2 separate regions of the Homo sapiens genome follow, and region 2 is linked to region 1. The links are contacts of gene promoters, found by promoter capture Hi-C in human tissues and cell types (Jung and others, 2019). All regions are on one chromosome and are shown on one strand. The core of a region is centred on a gene start or on the middle of the fragment in contact, and the rest is flanking DNA. Distances in the headings are between cores, read along the strand shown. Region 1 holds the start of CBR1 (carbonyl reductase 1). Region 2 overlaps DOP1B (DOP1 leucine zipper like protein B).

Region 1 (5,371 bases), core at 2,777-5,276:
TATTGAATATCCTAAACAAGCATAAAATGCAAGAGGAACACAGCCAGTGTCAAGCAGATCCGTGAGGGTAACTAATCAAAGGAACGACCTGGAGAACCTCACAGTTCATAATTTAACAATATTATTTTCCAACATCTTTTCTTTTAATATATACCATGGAACTGTGTTTTGGGCTTTTTTGTTTTTGTTTTTGTTTTTAGATTCGGGGGTACATGTGCAGGTTTGTTACATCAGTGTATTGCCTGATGCTGAGGTTTGGGCATCTAATGCTCCCAAGTAGAAAACATAGTACCCAATAGTTCGTTTTTCAACCCTTACCCCCTCCCTCCCCCTTTTGGAATCCCCGGTGTTATTGTTACCATCTTTTGTGTCCCTGTGTACTCAAATGTTTAGCTCCCACTTATAAGGGAGAACATGCGTTATTTGGTTTTCTGTTTCTGCGTTTGCACAATAGCCTCCAGCTGCATCCATGTTGCTGCAAAGGAAATGATTCCATTCTTTTTTGTGGGAACTATGTTCTTTAGTTGCTTTAAACTAGTGGGTAGTAGTGCTCGTTTGGGCAGCACATATACTAAAACCGGAATGATACAGACAAGATTTAGCATGGTGCCTGGGCAAGGATGACATGCAAATTCATGAAGCGTTCCATTAAAAAAAAAACAGTGGGTAGTAAAGATATGAATTCATTCCACAGGTTAATTGATGTGATAAAATTCTTTATCTATATAGCATCCAATATAGTCTCAGACCTTTGATTCTCACAACTAAGGCATGTCTTCCAATTTAGCCAATAGCAGTAATAGCAGAGATCTGGAAACTCCATCTTTAAATTTCTGTTTTATTTCTTAAATTGTTCAGAATCCAGACAAGGTGCTACATATTGGAGGCTCTTCACACATACCACCAGAATCAAGACCCAGATGTAAGAGAGACAACAATACAAAACCATCCAAGTAGAGCTTAATTCACAGGCTTTAAATTATGCTTTTCAAAAACAAATTTTCAAAAAGTTTCCCATAGTCAAACCCATCAGACATTTATGATTCTTCCCCTATTTTTATGCTTATAAAAGAAAGCATTTTCCCCTACTGAAAATAAAACTTTTACTTTTGTTTTCTTTTAGTTGTTTTATGGATTCATTTATAAATCACTGTTTCTCTCTCTTCGGAAATTATTTAGTGTATGTTGTAAGGGATCTTTTTTCTTTCCAATCATTATGCCCTTTCCCCAGTGCTAATTTTGGAATAATTCTTTCCCTCACTAGTTGTTAAACCACCTTTATCATACAGTAAATTCTTGTTAATATATATTTTATATATTTTCCGGAGCATCCTGCCTAATGTACCTGTCAATTCTTATGTTGGTTCCAGTCCTAAAAAAATAAATCAGACTCAAACTCATGATTCATAGTCCTCATAGGATTTGCCTTTTGAAACAGCAGGACCCTCACCCTGTCCAAAGTTCCCTGTACACCATGTGCTATTGCTGACTGGCCCTCTTAATAAATTTAATCCATCCACTCTAACACTAACTCACACCAGCTACAGAAGACAGTAGCTAGTGCAGTGGAGAGAACCCAGCCAATGACAGACCCAACACGCACACACTGGGATAGGAAAGAAAATCCAAAACAGAGCTCTGAATTATCCTGAGTGGAAAAAAAAAAACCAAAAACAAAATACTACAAACTGTATGACTCCATCTATGTAACATTTTTGAAACAACAAACTTGTAGAAATGGTGAACAGATTAGTGGTTGCCATGAATTAGAGTTGGTTTGGGGAGTAACAGAGAGGTATGTTTGGTGATAAAAGTGCAACAGGAGGGCTCTTTGTGCTAATAGAAACATTTTCATTTAACTATAGTGGTGGATACACAAACCAACATTTGATAAAATTATATAGGACTAAATACATACACAAAGTACACATCAAACTGGGGAAATCTGAGTATGATTGGTGGACTGTTTTGTTGTCAATATCTTCACTGTGATGTTGTACTATACTTTTGCAATATGTTACTATTGAGTGAAACTGAGTAAAGGGTAAGGAATCTCTGTATTATTTCTTACAACTGCATGTGACTCTATAATTAGCTCGACAAAAATTTCAGTTGAAAAAAAGCAAGGGTCTTTCCTTGATTATTAACTTGTTTTAAAGCAACTGATTGGAAACCTACCTTGAAATTGCAATGTAATTGCAATCTATTTAAAGCAGTGGTGTTCAACAGACCTTTCTGCAAGGATGGAAATATCCTAAATCTGTACTGCCCAATACAGTGACCACTAACACATGCACATATTGAGCACTGGAGATGTGGCTAGTGCAACTAAAAAACTGAATTACAAATTTTGCTTAATTTGAATTTATGTTTAAATGGCCACCTGTGATAGTGGCAACCTATGGGACAGCACAGAAATGAAACTTGACCTTATTCCCAATTCCCTTGTAAGTAGGAAGGAGGAACACTCACTTTGAAACCATGCAATTGTCCCATAGGACAGATGTTTATGGTCTCTTTTTTTTTCCTTTTTTTTTTTTTTGAGAGGGAGTCACTCTGTTGCCCAGGCTGGAGTGCAGTGGCATGATCTCGGCTCGCTGCAACCTCCGCCTCTGGGGTTCAAGCAAGCAATTCTCTGCTTCAGCCTCCCAAGTAGCTGGGATTACAGGCGCCTGCCACCACACCCAGCTAATTTTTGTATTTTTTTTTTTTTTTTTTTTTTTTAGTAGAGATGGGGTTTCACCATCTTGGCCAGGCTGGTCTTGAACTCCTGACCTCATGATCCACCCACCTCAGCCTCCCAAAGTGCTGAGATTACAGGCGTGAGCCACCGCGCCAGGCCTGGTCTCTTTTGAATAAACAAATTGACCCTCCCAGTCTAAAAACTTGAGAAATTTACATTTGTCTTATCTGAGTTCCTTTCTCAGGGAACTAGCCATCAGTCCTCCCAGATAGCACCAAGGAACTGAAACTTATCGGATCACCACATCTGGAAAATCAGACACCAGACCCCTCACCTGCAACAATTGCCTGATGCCTGTTGACCCACTCCTCTTCATCTCTCCCTAACTCCTGCTATTTTCCCACATGCAGTTACATTTCTTCCCTGCTATATCCTAATTTTAATCAGTTGAGAAGATGGATTTGAGACTGATCTCTCCCCCCTAGGCTGTAGCACCCAAATAATGCCTTCTTCCCTGACAATAATGGGGTCTCAGTGACTGGCTTTCTGTGCTGTGAACCACCAGACCTAGACCAAACTCCTGGCATTTCTCTAACAATTTCCCACCACTGAACTAAGTTATAAATTCTGAGGATGGATCCCTGTTTCTTCATTTTAAGATGGGGATTAAAAGGTACATCCTAGAGTGTTATTGTCCGTGTAAAATAGGGCTGTGAAACCCCCTACACCTATGCACAGATAAACTGATGGCCCTGCAAATGCCCAGAGAAGTAACCTTATAAAGATTTAGTGAATGTTTCCCACCATTATTGGAAAATCTGGCTAAGTCAGTAGCTTTGTTTTCATATACTTAGGGGGAAAATCAACAAAAACTTGATGCCCTGTTATTTCCTTCCAGTTTCTTCTGCAACTCTAGCTCCAAAGACTGCAGTTCCTGCAGTATTTTTTTTTTTAGAACACCAGGAAAAAAAGAAAAAAAAACCATGCAAATGTACTATTTCTTCAAACACAACTAGGAATGATTGAACAGCTGGGAGAATATGAAGAAAACCCCTCAGAGAACCAAGGGCAAGCAGTGAGTTCAGATCTAGGCACATGGCCACTAGGAATGGTTCTTCACTGCCACGTGGGCAGCCAACAGCCAGTAGCTAGAGACCAGCCTCGGTCTTCGGCCTGCGGGTTCTGCAAAGTCAGGCTAGCTGGCTCTCCGCCTGCTCCGCACCCCGGCGAGGTTCCGGTGGGGAGGGGTAGGGATGGTTCAGCCCCGCCCCGCTAGGGCGGGGCCTGCGCCTGCGCGCTCAGCGGCCGGGCGTGTAACCCACGGGTGCGCGCCCACGACCGCCAGACTCGAGCAGTCTCTGGAACACGCTGCGGGGCTCCCGGGCCTGAGCCAGGTCTGTTCTCCACGCAGGTGTTCCGCGCGCCCCGTTCAGCCATGTCGTCCGGCATCCATGTAGCGCTGGTGACTGGAGGCAACAAGGGCATCGGCTTGGCCATCGTGCGCGACCTGTGCCGGCTGTTCTCGGGGGACGTGGTGCTCACGGCGCGGGACGTGACGCGGGGCCAGGCGGCCGTACAGCAGCTGCAGGCGGAGGGCCTGAGCCCGCGCTTCCACCAGCTGGACATCGACGATCTGCAGAGCATCCGCGCCCTGCGCGACTTCCTGCGCAAGGAGTACGGGGGCCTGGACGTGCTGGTCAACAACGCGGGCATCGCCTTCAAGGGTATGGGGAGGGGACGTGGCCTCCCCGAAGAAGAACCGATGCACTGGGGCTCCTGGCGTCTGCGGGGTCCATAACGCCTCCCTAGGGAGGAGAGGGAGGAGCTAGGAGATGCAGGGAGTGCAGAAACCTTGGAGAAAGTGAGAGTTTTCCAGCCAAAGGGAACTTTGTGTTTCCCTGGCTGGGACTCTTGGGGATCTTTTTCAGGTTTTCTGCAGTTTTTCTGAATTGAGCTTTAAGGCAACTGGATGGATTTTGAACTGATTTTAAAATAAACGACAAATTGCAAAAAGAAAAAATGGTTATGCCAAGATCCAGTGTGTGCACCCTTCATCCTCCTTCCCCCAATGGTGCCATCTTACAAAAATACTAGAACATGATCAAACCAGGAGATTGACATTGGCACAATACTGTAACCAGATACAGACTTACTTTAGGCAGAGGGCACTAAGTTTTTTTTTTTTTTTTTTTTTTTTTTTAGTATCATTGTATAGAATTTTACCCCATGGGTACAATGTATTAACTATGTTCTCTTTCTCTCCTAAAAGTTGCTGATCCCACACCCTTTCATATTCAAGCTGAAGTGACGATGAAAACAAATTTCTTTGGTACCCGAGATGTGTGCACAGAATTACTCCCTCTAATAAAACCCCAAGGTGAGTCTGATGGGAAACAGCGCACCTTCTCTTTGGGGCTTGATTTGGCCCCTGCTTGCCTGGGATTTCTCCTGCAGGCTCCTGCTTCCTCTCCATGCTGCACGTGCACTGACCTCTGTGCTTTTTCTCCTGCCAGCTGATATGTGCCATTTTGCCTCAGGACTTTGTCCTCACTTCTCCCACTCCCATGGCCATTCGTCCTCCCTGTCGCACTGGTCTTTGCACACCTGGCTGACTCTCATCCTTCAGGTCTTAGCTCAAACGTCTCCTGAGAGATGCTCTTTATTTGCTCCATTCCCCTCTGCGTGGGA
Region 2 (5,509 bases), core at 840-3,339, 190 kb after region 1:
GAGGCCAGGAGTTCAAGACCAGCCTGGCCAACATGGTGAAACCCTACTAATCTCTACTAAAAATACAAAAAATTAGCCCAGTGTGTTGGCCCGCGCCTATACTCCCAGCTTGGGAGGCTGAAGAACGAGAATCGCTTAAACCCGGGGGGCAGAGGTTGCAGTGAGCTCAGATCGTGCCACTGCACTCCAGCCTGGGTGACAGAGCAAGACTCTATCTTAAAAAACAATAATAAAATAAATAAATAAATAAATAAAATAAAATAAAATAAAATAGAAGAAAGGCCGGGCGCAGTGGCTCACGCCTGTAATCCCAGCACTTTGGGAGGCCGAGGCGGGTGGATCACCTGAGGTCGGGAGTTCGAGATCAGCCTGGGCAACACGGTGAAACCCCGTCGCTACTAAAAATACAAAATTAGCCGAGCGTGGTGGCACATGCCTGTAATCCCAGCTATTCGGGAGGCTGAGGCAGGAGAATCGCTTGAACCTGGGAGGCGAAGGATGCAGTGAGCCGAGATCACGCCATTGCACTCCAGCCTGGGCAACAAAAGTAAATCTCCGTCTCACCAAAAAAAAAAAAAAAAAGGCCTGAGAGGTCAAGGTCGATCATCTAATTTAAGGCTTTTATTTTAGAGACAAAGAAACCAGGAGTATCTCACCTGCCAGCAGTAGGATTTCAGGTTCTCAAACTCCAAGTGTTTGCCAGAATACCAAAGTTTAGCTCATGTACATTGTAAGTTTTTAAAAAGAAAAAGGTCAGTGAGGTATGCTGTTTACCCTTTGCTTTCCAACTGCCAGGATCTTAAATATGCTTATAAATAAATGTATTTTGACTTGTTCGTGGTTGAGTATTTTTCCTATCTTTTAAAAAAACAGGCTCCCAGTACCAGCCTTGCAAGAGAACTTTTCTTCACTGTTGGGAGTATTGAAAGAGTCTGTACAGTTGAATCTAGCCCCACCTGGGTATTTTCTGCTTCTCAGGTATCATGTCACCACATTGTCATTGTGTAATATTTTCTCTTGGCACATATTTTATTTCTGCAGCATTTTTAATCTGAAGCTGATTGTCTCCCAACAGCATGCTGAATGACTTTGTAACAAGAACTCCCAACCTGGAAAACAAGAAGGACCAAAAAGACCTGCAGGTTTGTATATGAAAGAGGTTCAGCCAAATGATATTACCCCAGCAGTGCTGTCCTCCTTTGGGGGATATCAGATAGCAGGTAGACAAGAGACATTGGACAGAATCTGAGGTTAGCTTTGCACTTGTTCTCAAGTCTTACTTCTGCCATCACTGTCTCTAGAGAGTTCGGACAGTCCCGGGGCCCGGGTTTTCTGATGAAGGTTCTTGTGTAATGCTTGAGCAATCGATTGTGGAATTGACAGCTGCACCCCTCACCCTCCACACTGTATGCAGATGTATGTGGATCTCACTGTAAAACATAAATGGAATAAGAAATCTTATTTCCCCCCAGACGCGGTGGCGCATACTTGTAATCCCAGTACTTTGGGAGGCTGAGGCGGGCAGATTGCTTAAGCTCAGGAGTTTGAGACCAATCTGGGTAACATAGTGAGACCTCATCTCTACAAAAGTACAAAAATTAGCCTAGTGTGATAGCTACACCTATAGTCCCAGCTACTTGGGAGGCTAAGGATCCCTTGAGCCTGGGAGGTTGAGGCTGTAGTGAGCTGTGATCACACCACTGCACTTCAGCCTGGCAACAGAGAGAGATCCTGTCTCAAAAAAATTTTTTAAAAAAGGAAGCTATCTCCATACATGGATATTTCTTTTTTTCTTTTTTTTTTTTTTGGGCCAGGGGGTTGGACAGAATCTCACTCCATCACCCAGGCTAGAGTGCAGTGGCACGGTCTCAGCTCACTGAAACCTCCACCTCTGGGGTTCAAGCGATTCTTCTGCCTCAGTCTCCCAAGTAGCTGAGATTACAGACATGCCACCACGCCCGGCTAATTTTTTGTATTTTTAGTAGAGGCGGGCTTTCTCCATGTTGGCTGGTCTGGTCTCAGACTCCTGACCTCAGGTGATCCTCCTACCTTGGCCTCCCAAAGTGCTGGGATTACAGACGTGAGCTACCACACCCAGCCTCCATACATGGATTTCTTTCCTTAAACGCCTTATCCCCCATTATAACAGTAATATATGCTCATAACAATTTGTTTAATACTGAAAAATAAAACTCATCATAGGAGAAGGAAAACTCAGAGTGGAATGCCAACTAATAAATACGGAAGTTATGATGAAGTTGGAAAAATCACTGTTTTGCAAACCATTATAGACATTGATTCAGTTGGCTTTTCTATCACATTTATAGCCTTGGCGATACTACTGCTAATCTTTATGATCCCTGGCATTTGTGAAAGGTATATCCAGAAACAGCCTCAGGTCCACAGTTCTGAACCACAAGAGTACTGTATAAAGTGCAGTAGGCCGTGTGCGGTGGCTCACGCCTGCAATCCCAGCACTTTGGGAGGCCAAGGTGGGCGGATCACCTGAGGTCAGGGGTTCAAGACCAGCCTGGCCAACATGGTGAAACCCCACCTCTACTGAAAATACAAAAATTAGCCATGCCTGGTGGCGGATGCCTATAATCCCAGCTACTCAGGAGGCTGAGGCAGGAGAATCGCTTGAACCTGGGAGGCAGAGGTTACAGTGAGCCGAGATCTCACCACCGTACTCCAGCCTGGGCAACAAGCGTGAAACTTCGTCTCAAAAACAAAAAACAAAAAAACAAAAACACCATAAAGCATAATTAGAAAATTCCAGTGCCTCCTCCTTTGGCCTTGACTTGTAGCCAGAGAAGAAAACGTTACAATGCCGATGCTGCACGTCCAGGTGCTGGGATAGCACTTGCTCACCTAAGCCCTCCCTGCTTTCGTGGCCTGTTGCCTGTAGCAGGCCCCTCTGTCTTCAGCCAGCCTGGACAGGGCTCTGGCCACAGGCATTCCCTCCGTTGTTGCAGCTGGCATGCCTCTTCTCTGCTCCTTTTGGTTGCGGGGACCAGGTGGCATCTGCTTCTTTCTGTCTCATGACACCTGGCCTCCCCGCCACTAATTCCTTCCTACTGTTTTGAGCGACACCCTATGCTTCTTCCCCACTGAGGATATAGAAAAAAACAAAGTGTGATTTTCCTACCACACTCTCGTAACATAGAATCCTTCTGTGACCTCGTAACCAAAATGTGTGGGAATTGCTTCCCACCAGCAACCAAGCTAGTAGTTCTGCAGTGGACACTAGATAGGCACCGTCCAATTCCATTCAATTCTGGCATTCCCCACCTAGAGATAGCTTGAGATCCTGCAGGTTGAGGGCTCAGTCCCACAAGACTGCCCCACCCCCTCAGATGCCAATCACAAGCCCCAAGTGGTTTCATCTGTGCTTTTGACAGACCAGCTCTAAACTGGGGTTCTCACTACCCACCCCTTGGGTTCTGTTAATTAGCTGGAGTGGCTGATGGAACTCAGGGAACACATTGAACAGTTTATTTTATTTATTTATTTATTTTTTTGAGACAGAGTCTTGCTCTTGTTGCCCAAGCTGGAGTGCAATGGCACGATCTCAGCTCACTGCAACCTCCGCCTCCCAGGTTCAAGCGATTCTCTTGCCTCAGCCTCCCGAGTAGCTGGGATTACAGGTGCCCGCCACAATGCCAGCTAATTTTTGTATTTTTAGTAGAGGTGGGGTTTCACCATGTTGGCCAGGCTGGTCTCGAACTCGTGACCTCGTGATCCAGCCGCCTCAGCCTCCCAAAGTGCTGGAATTACAGGCATGAGCCACCACACCCGGCTGACCAGTTTATTATAAAGGAGATTAGAAAGGATACAGATGAAGCGATGATCAGGCAAGGTACGTGGGAAGGGGCACAGAGCTTCCATGCCCTCCTAGGGCACCACCCTCTAGGAACCTCCACATGTTTAGCCATCCAGAAGCTCATCCGAACCCAGTTACTTTGGGGTTTGTGGAAGCTTCATTACATAGGCATGATGGATTAAATCACTGGTCATTGGTGATCAATTTAACCTTTAGCCCCTCTCCCCTTCCTGGAGGTTGGGGAGCTGAAGTTCTCTGGGGGCCCCCAGCCACAACCATCTAAGACACGTATTACTTTGGAGAATCCAAGGAATTTAGGAGTTATAGCTGGGAAATGGGGAGAAAGGCCAAAAACATTTCCACAATATCACACCCGTCCACTCAGTGCTTTCATCAGTCCTTACGGGAACTCCTCTAAGCCCCTAATCCCTTTTCCTGACTTTCCTTGTGCCCTTCACACCCTGCCCTGCCTAAGTTAGCCAATTCGCCACTTCCCTCGAGCGCACCCTTCTCTCACCCAGCAGGCAGGTGTGCCCTGCTTCACACCTCAACACAACTGCTGAGCCTAGGAACCGTGTGGCACAGTTGAGGTCAGGATTATAAAATTCTCGGATGTCAAGGATTATAGCCACTCGTAGCTGGTGACACTTGATGACACTGGCTGAGAAGCCTGCTTCGAGTTTCTGTCTCTCCAGCTACTAACCAGATTCTTTACTGATCATACTCCTGAGAGTGGATGACTCCTCACTTCACCCCACTGAGTCAGTTTAACTTACTGACCTTTATTTCTTGTATATTATTGAAAGATGCATTTCTAGGAAGAACCCGTGGTCCTAGAGAAACCAGAAAGCCAATCCACTGAATACAATTTATGGTTTTTTCATCAGCGTGCTGCAATGACTTGTGTTCTCTGTATATTTTACCTACATTGGCCAGTATAGTAGCCGTTAGCCACAGGTGGCTGTTGAGCACTTGAAGTGTGGCTAGTCTGCAGCCTGGGCAACATAGGGAGACCCCATCTCTACAAGAAATTTAAAAATTATCCAGATGTGGTGGCATGCACCTGTAGTCCCAGCTACCTGGGAGCCTAAGGATGGCTTGAGCCCAGGAGGTCGAGGCTGCAGTGAGACTTTTTTTTTTTTTTTTTTGAGATGGAGTCTTGCTCTGTTATTGGGGGAACTCACCCCCAGTATTTCAATGTAGGTTCTTTCTATTTTCCGTAAGTGTCGGCCGGCTGAGAAATAAAGGGACACAGTATAAAGAGAGGAATGTTACAGCTGGGCCACCAGGGGTGACATCACGTATCAGTAGGACCGTGATGCCCTCCTGAGCCTCAAACCAGCAAGTTTTTATTAAGGGTTTCAAAAGGGGAGGGGGTGTAAGAACAGGGAGTAGGTACAGAGATCACATGCTTCAAAGGGCAAAAAGCAGAACTAATAATAAGGGTCTAACAAAGATCACATACTTTTGAGGGAACAGGACAAAGGGCAAAAGCAGAACTACTGATAAGGGTCTATGTTCAGCGGTGCACGTATTGTCTTGATAAACATCTTATCTTAACAGAAAACAGCGTTGGAGAGCAGAGAACCGGTCTGACCACAGATTTACCAGGATGGAGTTTTTCCCCACTCTAGTAAGCCTGAGGGTACTGCAGGAGACCAGGGCGTATCTCAGTCCTTATCTCAA

What was found. Contacts are between HindIII fragments. The study calls those that stand out against the background at their distance.
Region 2: a fragment that was not itself captured here is called in contact with the fragment with the promoter of CBR1 in region 1 in 1 of the 25 tissues and cell types used here (hippocampus).

Annotation. Positions count from the first base shown.
Region 1 is chr21:36,065,998-36,071,368 of GRCh38, forward strand. It overlaps CBR1 (carbonyl reductase 1), which reads left to right and starts at 4,027. Exons shown (of 3, transcript NM_001757.4): 1 at 4,027-4,407; 2 at 4,953-5,060. The coding sequence starts at 4,119. CBR1-AS1 (CBR1 antisense RNA 1) reads right to left here. Exons shown (of 4, transcript NR_040084.1): 4 at 3,645-4,488. It also overlaps the pseudogene RNU6-992P. RefSeq lists an enhancer at 4,083-4,332. The HindIII fragment of the contact is 9,879 bases long and covers 1-5,371 here.
Region 2 is chr21:36,262,673-36,268,181 of GRCh38, forward strand. It overlaps DOP1B (DOP1 leucine zipper like protein B), which reads left to right. Exons shown (of 37, transcript NM_001320714.2): 25 at 874-978; 26 at 1,076-1,142. Among named protein-coding and RNA genes, the nearest start is that of MORC3, 55 kb to the right of the region's middle. The HindIII fragment of the contact is 7,013 bases long and covers 1-5,509 here.